Regions from separate parts of the Homo sapiens genome. Here all the other regions are linked to region 2. Evidence: promoter capture Hi-C in human tissues and cell types (Jung and others, 2019). All regions are on one chromosome and are shown on one strand. Each heading gives the region's core, a stretch centred on a gene start or on the middle of the fragment in contact. The rest is flanking DNA. Distances are from core to core; before and after follow the strand shown. Region 1 overlaps RAPGEF1 (Rap guanine nucleotide exchange factor 1). Region 2 holds the start of DDX31 (DEAD-box helicase 31). Region 3 holds the start of UCK1 (uridine-cytidine kinase 1).

Region 1 (2,935 bases), core at 266-2,765, 1.1 Mb after region 2:
CTCGGGATAACGTAGAGCCACCTATAGAGAAAGGCCCAGCTCTGGAGGAGACGGCGTTACCTCCTGAGCCCAGGAGCGAGCCTGCCTTGCCTTACTGTGGGCAGTAGGGAGTATGCCCATCTCAGCAGCAGGACTGGTCACAGCCTTGACAGCAGGAACAGAGCTGAGAGTGCCTCGCATTGGGGGCTTTCAAAAGCAACCACTCTGATGCAGCTGTTTCCAACCCCTGGTTGTAGACTTTGAGAATCTTTATTGTTTACAGCCTGGCATTTTGGCTGATCGGTGCCCCTTGACCAGCTTCAGGCACAGTAGTGTCACTGTAGCACCTGGCCGTGGTTGTACTTCTGACTCCATCCATGACAGGCAAACTGTCATGTGGGAGTTCAGTCAGGGTGGTGGGGAAAATTACAGAGGAGAAGTTTTAAGATAAAGTTATAGGAAATAGACACAAACCTTCTTGGAAGGCTGGTACCCACAGGATCCCCATTCCTTGTAAAGGTCGTGCACTGACACGCATCCTGAGGGCCAGTTCCACGTCCAGTGCCTCTCGCCTTTACTTCCACGTCAGGCTACTGTTTCCCTATCGAGGGCCTTCCTTCCTATTCTGTGATCAAATGGTTCACTGCAGTTCTAGAGATGGAGAAGCCAGGAGAGAGAAGCTGAGCCATTTGTTCCAAGTTAAGCTAGAGCCAGGGTTGGAATCCAGAACCCTATCATGAAAAATACAGCGTTAGATTAACATTTTTGAACTGCTTAATTGCCCATTTTTGAACTGCTTAATTGCCAAATAAATTTTGAGATCTCGTAAGGCTGGGTCAAAAGAAAAGTGTGTAGGCTGGACGTTGAGAGGCGTGTATTTCTCCTTCATGTTCTGACATGTTACAAAGTGTAGCTACAGGCTCTAAATAGAGTTCTAAGAATAAGTATAAATTAGAGCCCCTGTCAGGCTGTTGAAATGCAAACTGAGTAAAAATAGTTGTCAGACTTCTAGAACTGAATTTGAATCATTTTTCAGTCTGTACTAAATCTTTCTATAAAGGGTTGATGTTATTCAGATCAACACTTAGTGAATTACAGAGCATCCTAGAATGTATTGGAGGTTTTGCAAGAGTTAATTTGCCATGAAGCCATTGGCCAAAACGTAGTATTTTCAGTGGAGATATTGTGATTCCAGTTGCAAAAATACATCACATGAGAAGGAACTTAATAAGGAACTTTTGCATTCACCCATCTTCTCCCAAGCAACGCATTTTTGTTCTTTTACATCCTTTTTTCTTAGGATATTCAGGTGGTTTTTAAAAATAAGCTCCACTAAGGAGTTTATTTGAAAAGGGAGAAGATATTTTTTGGACCCAACATAATGCTAATGTTGCCTTTCTTTGGTGAGAAGAATGCCATCTTGTCATTCACACAGTGTGGCCCACAGGACTGCCTTCTTACCAGGATCAAAGACAAAACGGTCAGTGGCAGATCTCAGTTCATGTGCATGTGGCATTGGCCTCAGAACCTACCACTTGGCTTTGGAACTCATCTTTTGACATTATGTAAGGTATAGTTATTGTTTTAAATTAACACAAGGGCATCAAGGAAAAGGAGTTGCCCCTGGGCCTAAGGTAGACCCTACTGTGTAAACCAGTAGTTAATTGGGACCGTAAGGAAAGAGAAGACAAAGCCAGAGGTATCCCTAATAGTTTGCCAAATGGAGTAACAAGGAGTGTTACCAAGCACCTTTCCTGGGGCAGGAGGGTGTCCTGGGAGTGGTCATACCCCATCTCTATAAGAATCAAATCAGATAAGCTTTTCTCCCCAGACAATCACGTGGGTGTCATCATCAGTGAAAAGCTCAATTTCCTTCCAGAATAGATAAATTAGGGCCCACACTTTGAGGCTCACAGTCCCCTAGTTGAAGGACATATGTGCTCTGAGCCCAGCGCCAGTGCTGAGCTGTGGCTCCCATTGATTCTCCGCTGAGGAAGGAAGCCCAGACCACACTAGAAAAGCAGCTTCCCCTGAATGTGTTTTCTCACAAATGAGGGATAAAAATTTAAGCCCGAAAACCAGCTGTCCAATAGCTTATCTGTTTTGCTAAGTAGCATCCAAAAACTCTGAAGTCATAAGCCTTACTTGAGCCAAGATTATGCAGTAATGACCAATTTCTGGCAACTTCTCTTCCCAAACACTTCACCATGCCAGTGAATCCATTCATTTACATGACCACATTTCGCTGTAACTGGTGGAGCTGACAATTCTCCAGGGCTTGGAGCTCAAGTCACTGTGGAGCAACCATTCTGATCAAGGTTCCTCAGCCTGTGTCCCTAACCCTCAGCCGCTGATGAGCAGACAGCCTCCTCTGGCACGCGCTCTTCCTGATCAGCAGAGGAATTAAGTGGAGTGGCTGTTATATTGAGGACTCAGAATTGTTCCTTTAAAGATCTGCTTTCCTGCTGGGCACGATGGCTCACGCCTATAATCACAGCACTTTGGGAGGCTGAGGTAGGAGGATCACTTGAGCCCAGGAGTTCAAGACCAGCCTGAGCAACACAGCAAAACGCTATCTCTACAAAATCCAAAAAATCAGTTGTACCTGGCGACACATGCCTATATTCCCCCCTATTTGAGAGGCTGAGGCAGGAGAATCAGTTGAACCCAGGAGGTTGAGGCTACAGTGAGCCAAGACCGCATCACTGCACTCCAACCTGGGTGACAGAGCGAGACCCTGTCTCAAAAAAAGAAAGGAAGAAAAAGATCTTTCCTGCTTTCTTGCTAAGGCAACACAGAGCCCATCCCTAATCCTTTTTCCATGCCAGGACTATAATAGAGAGAAGGTGTCACCGAAAACTAGTGCCTTTTCTAAGTATTTTACTTGTGAGAAAAAAAACTGGTGCCTGGCCAGCTTCAGGCAGCTTTGCCTTTTAATGAATTGGCCACACGCTCG
Region 2 (3,160 bases), core at 33-2,532:
CGCTCCATGTGCGGGCCCGACGGAGGGGCGAAGGAGGGGTTCCTGGGACTCAACTCCGGGAAGCCCCCTGGGTGTGTACCTGTGTTTGCGGCGGCGGGTGACCTGGGGAAACAGGGTGCAGACAGCTGCAGAGCTTTTCTTTTTTTTTTTTTAAGCTGTGGTAACCCTGGCTGCTTAATAAATCCCCAGCGCTCGGTGCGAAGAGGGAAATCCCCGGACAGAGTGTGGGATCGGATTCCCCTGGGACGGATGATGCGGCCGCGAGAGGGGGACAGGGGAAGACCCCAGGGATGGCGGGGGATGACTTACTTTGAGGAGACAGCTGTTGAGCGGTGCGGGCACCGAGGTGCGGTGGATAACCAGGTCCTGGCCCGGGTTGTGCACGTCGCAGATGAGCTCCAGCACAGCGATGCTGCGGGCCGTGGACACAGACACGCGGTGGTCCTCGGACCAAGCCAGCGGTTCCAGGCCGCTCACCGCATACTGCAGCTTCACGGCCGGCTCCCGCCGAGTCACCATGAGGCGGAATGCAGCGCTGGGCCCCGGGGCCGCGTCCGCTGCTGGCTCCTTCCCGCCCGCCTCGCCGCCCCCCTCTCCCTCCTCCTCCCCAGACGGCGCAGGCCCGTCGTCCGCGGGCCCCACCCGGGCCTGGTCGGCCGTGTTCATCTTCTCTCAGGTGCAGAGGTCGGACGCCCTGGCGCTCCACGCAGTCGCGCGACCACCTCCCGGACCGCCGCCGCCACCCCCAGCGCCCTCCGCGGCGGTTTTCTCCCCTCAGGCCCCGAGCGCCGCCGAGCCAAGAAGGACCCCGCCGTTGCCAGGCAACGCGGCCCTACCAGGTGGCCAAGGAACTGCCTGTCCAGAAAAAGGACAGCGAGCGGGGAGCCCCGAGGACCCCCTTTTCCCTGCCCAGGGATTGAGCTCCAGAGCCTGTTAGGGAGCTACCCAGACAGGCTTTAGTTCCTAAAGTGCTGAGGAAACGCACGGGGCGGTAAAGGGGAGGCTCGTCGGTGAGATGGCGCCGGATCTCGCTTCTCAGAGGCATTCAGAGAGCTTCCCCAGCGTGAACTCTCGGCCGAATGTAATTTTGCCAGGCCGCGAGGGACGCAGAGAGGGGCTGCCACCAGGCGGGGGCACGCGCGGTAGTCTTGTCCCTACCCGCCCGGTGCCGCCGTCCCCGGCTCCCCTCGGGACGAGTCCGTACAGCTGGAGCCGTTCCGGACCCGGAAGGGGCGGTGGCGCAGGGTCCTCGCGCGTCCCACGTGGGGTCCCGGGCCCAGCAGTCTGCGCACCGGGCTCGCTGCTGCACCACGCGTCACCCACGCAGACCATGGCAGCCGCCGACGGTTCGCTCTTCGACAACCCCAGGACGTTCTCCAGACGTCCCCCAGCCCAGGCGAGTCGGGTGAGTTCTGACCCGGCTTCAGCTCCGTCCCCACCCGCGGCCCGGCTGTGGGCGCGCCGCGAGCTGCAGCCGTGCCTTGGAGTCGGGTTTCGAGTCATTCACGGAGTTAAGCGGGAGAAAGACACCGGGCAGCTTCGGGACAAGTTGCGCCGAAACACGTGTCTCTAACCGGAACACCACCCGCAGGGATGCGCCTGGAAGCGGGGAGTGGAGCGGTGTGGAGGGGCGGGGAGCTGGCTCCTGCGCCTAGAAAAGTAAAGGAAGGAATTAGAGGCTGTTTCCCGTGGAAGGTAGGACCTGAAGTTCCGGCGCAAGTCCCAGGCCAAAGCTTAACTTCTCTAAGCCAGTTTCCTCGACTGAGTGCGGACTAAGCTCTGATTTTTTTTTTTATCTTGCCCACATTCCTGTCTGGGAAGAGTCATGCCCTACAAACCATAAATTCTCATCAGATGGCTTTCATTTAACCCTATATATCGTGACTTACTTTCCAAACTGGCTCTGGCCTAACATTATGTGACAAAGAAGAAAGTTAAAATATTACCCCTAAACATGTTTCTTTGCCACATTTTGAAATGGCTTTGCAAAGCTGTTCTTTGGGGGGGGCGGGCGGGGTGGACATTTGCATCTGCAAAGAATCTCTATTAACATAGCTAGATCTTTTTCTTCCAGGCCCTCCCAATCCTAAAGAGATTAAGAGTCTACCACCTTTCAAAGATCTGAATAGGAAACACTTGTCTGTTGTCTCTAAGGGCAGCCACTAAAGACTTGAAAAGAACCTTGGTCTCCACAATCTTTTATCTTAACCTGAGCATTTTCTTTGTATCCATCCCAGGTGTTTAGACAAACTCAACCGTCAACTAGAAAATGTTTAAATTTACCTATAGCCTGGAAGCCCCCGCTTTGAGTTGTCCCACCTTTCTGGACAAAACCAGTGTATTTCTGAAATGTATTTGATGTCTCATGCCTCTCTAGAATGTATAAAACCAAGCCGCGGCCGGGCGCGGTGGCTCACGCCTGTAATCCCAGCACTTTGGGAGGCCGAGGCAGGCGGATCACGAGGTCAGGAGATCGAGACCATCCTGGCTAACAAGATGAAACCCCCGTCTCTACTAAAAATACAAAAAATTAGCTGGGCGTGGTGGTGGGCGCCTGTAGTCCCAGCTACTCGGGAGGCTGAGGCAGGAGAATGGCGTGAACCCAGGAGGCGGAGCTTGCAGTGAGCCGAGATCATGCCATTGCACTCCAGCCTGGGCAACAGAACGAGACTCCGTCTCAAAAAAAAAAAAAAAAGCTGCACCCCGACCACCTTGGGCACATGTTCTCAGGACCTCTCGAGGGCTGGATCATGGGCCATGGTCACTCATACTTGGCTCAGAATAAGTCTCTTCAGATATTTTTGAGTTTAACTCTTTTGGTCGCCATGAGGAAGGTTCGTTTGTTTCAGGAATGAGGACTGGCAACTAGGAGTTTTTTTGAAGAGCTTTCAAAAATGGGACAGATTTTCATCCCCATGCAATGGAGGGGGATAGGAAAATCGGTTTCATTGATATAATCCCATTGCTAGAGAGGGGTAAGATGCCCTAGAATTAACTTAAGCAGTAACTGAAAACTGGTTTCTAGGATAGTTGATTTGTCTCTTAGAAAAGAGGACTACAGGACAGAAAGACTGATTAAAATCATAAAGTGATCATCAAACTTTAGGATTTAGATGTTTGGCAGTAAGGAGTCCAGCTAGCCAAGTGTAGCTGCATCTGG
Region 3 (2,979 bases), core at 42-2,541, 1.1 Mb after region 2:
CAAAGGCGAGAATTAGATAAGGAGGTAGCTGGGGCTGTAGACTTGGGGTCTTTTTTTTTTTTTTTTTTTTTTTTGAGACAGAGTCTCACTCTTTCCCCCAGGCCGGAGTGCAGTAGCGTGATCTTGGCTCACTGCAAGCTCCACCTCCCGGGTTCACACCATTCTCCTGCCTCAGCCTCCCGAGTAGCTGGGACCACAGGCGCCCGCCACCATGCCCGGCTAATTTTTTGTATTTTTAGTAGAGACGGGGTTTCACCATGTTAGCCAGGATGGTCTCGATCTCCTGACCTCGTGATCCACCCGCCTCGGCCTCCCAAAGTGCTGGGATTACAGGTGTGAGCCACCGCGTCCGCCCGGGGTTGTCTGTTTTGTATATGAAAAGCATGCTCTGCCCCGAGCCTTAGCTATCTCTCTCTCTTTTTTATTTTTGAGACGGAGTCTTGCTCTGTGGCCCAGGCTGGAGTGCAGTGGCACCATCTCGGCTCACTGCAACCTCCACCTCCCGGGTTCAAGCGATTCTCCTGCCTCAGCCTCCCAAGTAGCTGGGATTACAGGCGCCCGCCACCACGCCCAGCTGATTTGTTGCATTTTTAGTAGAGGCGGGGTTTCACCGTGTTCGCCAGGATGGTCTCGATCTCCTGACCTCGTGATCTACCCGCCTCAGCCTCCAAAAGTGTTGGGATTACAGGCGTGAGCCACCGCGCCCGGCTGGAAATCCATAATTTCAATGGATCAGAATTTGCCTGTCACGTTCTCTGTGCCAGGCACGGAGCGGGGGGGCGGCAGGGATGGAACCCGGCACATGGGCCTCTGCCTCCTTGGCGCGCTGTAGGCGCGAGCCTAAAGTCATCAGGCGACAGCCCCCGCCACGTTCCGGGGCGCCCCGACGGCTCCAGCAGCGGGTGGGGTGGGAGGCGTCCGGACAGTCCGGAGGCCTCGATGGCCAAGAGGAGCCTGGGCTGGAGGGGGCCAGGCCCGGGGGCGGCCGGGGGAGGGCCCGGGACTGGCGCAGAGGCAGCGCGAGGCAGAGGCAAGCACTCGGACGAAGGCGCAGCCCCAGCCTCGGGGTGCGGAACGGGCACCTTCCGGGCCACTTGAGTCTGAGACCTTGTAGCCGGCTCGAGGCCCGGGCGCAGCAGTCCCTGCCAGCCAGCTTTCGGCGCAATGGGACGCGGGCGCTCCTGGTGTGCCGGCCTCGGGCCCTGCACCCTCACGCATGCGCGGCCCCCCCCCCCCCGGTGGACTACAACTCCCGGCGTGCCCCGCGCGCCTCCCGGAAGTGATCGCTCCGGTTGCCTCCGACCTCGGCGCTGGGCGGGCGCGCCGGGCCTGGGGAAGGGGCGGGCGCGGGGACCCGATGCGCGGGAGCGGAGGCCGAGATGGCTTCGGCGGGAGGCGAAGACTGCGAGAGCCCCGCGCCGGAGGCCGACCGTCCGCACCAGCGGCCCTTCCTGATAGGGGTGAGCGGCGGCACTGCCAGCGGGAAGGTAAGGGGCCGAGCGGGCCGGGGTCTCGCCTCTCGCCGGTGCCTACGGGCGGCCCGGTCCAGAGAGGAGACCCCAGCCCCGGCCGAGGGGCCCCCTGCCAGGCAGGGGCAGGGCGCGGGAGCGAAGGGGCTGCAGGCCGCGATGGGCCGGGGCGGGCTGGGGCGGGCGAGGGGTTGGGGCGCTGGGCCTCGGGGCTCCCCCACAGCCTCTCCGCCGGCCGGGCTCCTCGGAGCCCCAAGTCCGTGCTAACCCCGTTGGGCCCCCGCGGCCCTTCCGCTGAGACCATCCACACCTGTTGGTGTCCTCCCGCCTTCCGAGCATACCCCCCAGGGGGCGGGTGGGTCAGTGTCTCCAGAAGCCGGCCCCGTGCCTGTCACAGGACGAGCGGTTCCAGGCGGGAATCCCGCTTCTGTGTCTCCAGTCGACCGTGTGTGAGAAGATCATGGAGTTGCTGGGACAGAACGAGGTGGAACAGCGGCAGCGGAAGGTGGTCATCCTGAGCCAGGACAGGTTCTACAAGGTCCTGACGGCAGAGCAGAAGGCCAAGGCCTTGAAAGGACAGTACAATTTTGACCATCCAGGTAAATCGCGAGCCCAACGATGTGGGGAGGGCAGACCCCATTCTGGGCGGCCGCTAACCAGCTGCGCTTGGGCCCAAGGTTGGATGGATGCAGACCCGCTTGGGCTGTTCCCCCAACTCGCCACGCAGCCTGCAGTGGAGTTGGCTGCACAGTGAAGTCAGGGGAACTTTGCTGAGTTCTCTGGGCCCTGAGTGTCCCCCCAGGAGCGTGGTTGGAGCCAGTCAGGAAGCCTGTTGCACTGTGGGGAGCCCTGCCCTGCCCTGCCACAACTGTGATCCTGGAGAAATCCTCCCATCTTCCCTTCCCACGTTGGGGCCTTTAGGGCCCTCCACACACACCTCTGCCCACTGTGCCCTCCCGTGCTTTGGGGCAAAGTCCTCAGAGAGGCCAGTGTGGGAGGCGGTAGGTAAACTAGTGCTGGTGGCTTGAAGCTCCGGGCCAGGTAAACGGGCAGATGCGGCAGGGAGACACCTGCCACTGCTAGAAGATTCCACCCTGGCTGGCTGGCATGGTCAGCCTTTTCCCAAGGACTTGTGGGAAGAAGGCCTGCAAAGCCGCAGTCTAACCAGTTAGTCCCAGAAAGAGAGAGAAGCAGAGGCCCAGCCTACCCACCTCCCAGGAAGAGCTGATCAGAAAACCCCTGTGTTCCGGCATCTCAGGGGCACAGAGCTTGGGCAGTGGCACAGCCCGAGAACAGCAAGGACAGGGTCATCCTGTGGTCTGCAGGGCTGCAGAGGGCACTGTTGCTACCAAACATACACTGCCGTAGTCCTAGTCTACCTGTGCTAGGGTTCTCGGTGTCCCCAGCACCCAGCTGTGCTGACCCCAGAGCAGAGAGGGTTCCCTGCTGTCCGCTGCACGAGGGCATCTGCCTGTCTTGCCTTTGTCTCCAACCCTGCAGATGCCTTTGA

Evidence for each region. The method cuts DNA at HindIII sites, captures the fragments that hold promoters and counts their contacts. A contact is called where the count stands out against the background at its distance.
Region 1: a contact is called between a fragment that was not itself captured here and the fragment with the promoter of DDX31 in region 2, in 1 of the 25 tissues and cell types used here (dorsolateral prefrontal cortex).
Region 3: a contact is called between the fragment with the promoter of UCK1 here and the fragment with the promoter of DDX31 in region 2, in 1 of the 25 tissues and cell types used here (dorsolateral prefrontal cortex).

Annotation. Positions count from the first base shown.
Region 1 is chr9:131,609,703-131,612,637 of GRCh38, reverse strand. All of the region lies in intron 12 of RAPGEF1 (Rap guanine nucleotide exchange factor 1), which reads left to right. Among named protein-coding and RNA genes, the nearest start is that of PRRT1B, 66 kb to the right of the region's middle. The HindIII fragment of the contact is 6,269 bases long and covers 1-2,935 here.
Region 2 is chr9:132,668,105-132,671,264 of GRCh38, reverse strand. It overlaps DDX31 (DEAD-box helicase 31), which reads left to right and starts at 1,282. Exons shown (of 20, transcript NM_022779.9): 1 at 1,282-1,405. The coding sequence starts at 1,331. It overlaps GTF3C4 (general transcription factor IIIC subunit 4), which reads right to left and starts at 801. Exons shown (of 5, transcript NM_012204.4): 1 at 310-801. The coding sequence starts at 666. RefSeq lists silencers at 513-642, 1,063-1,212 and enhancers at 793-872, 558-1,425. The HindIII fragment of the contact is 5,477 bases long and covers 1-3,160 here.
Region 3 is chr9:131,529,575-131,532,553 of GRCh38, reverse strand. UCK1 (uridine-cytidine kinase 1) reads left to right here and starts at 1,291. Exons shown (of 7, transcript NM_031432.5): 1 at 1,291-1,487; 2 at 1,909-2,068; 3 at 2,970-2,979. The coding sequence starts at 1,380. RefSeq lists silencers at 886-1,055, 1,196-1,555, 1,756-1,805 and enhancers at 1,221-2,134, 2,840-2,979. The HindIII fragment of the contact is 11,870 bases long and covers 1-2,979 here.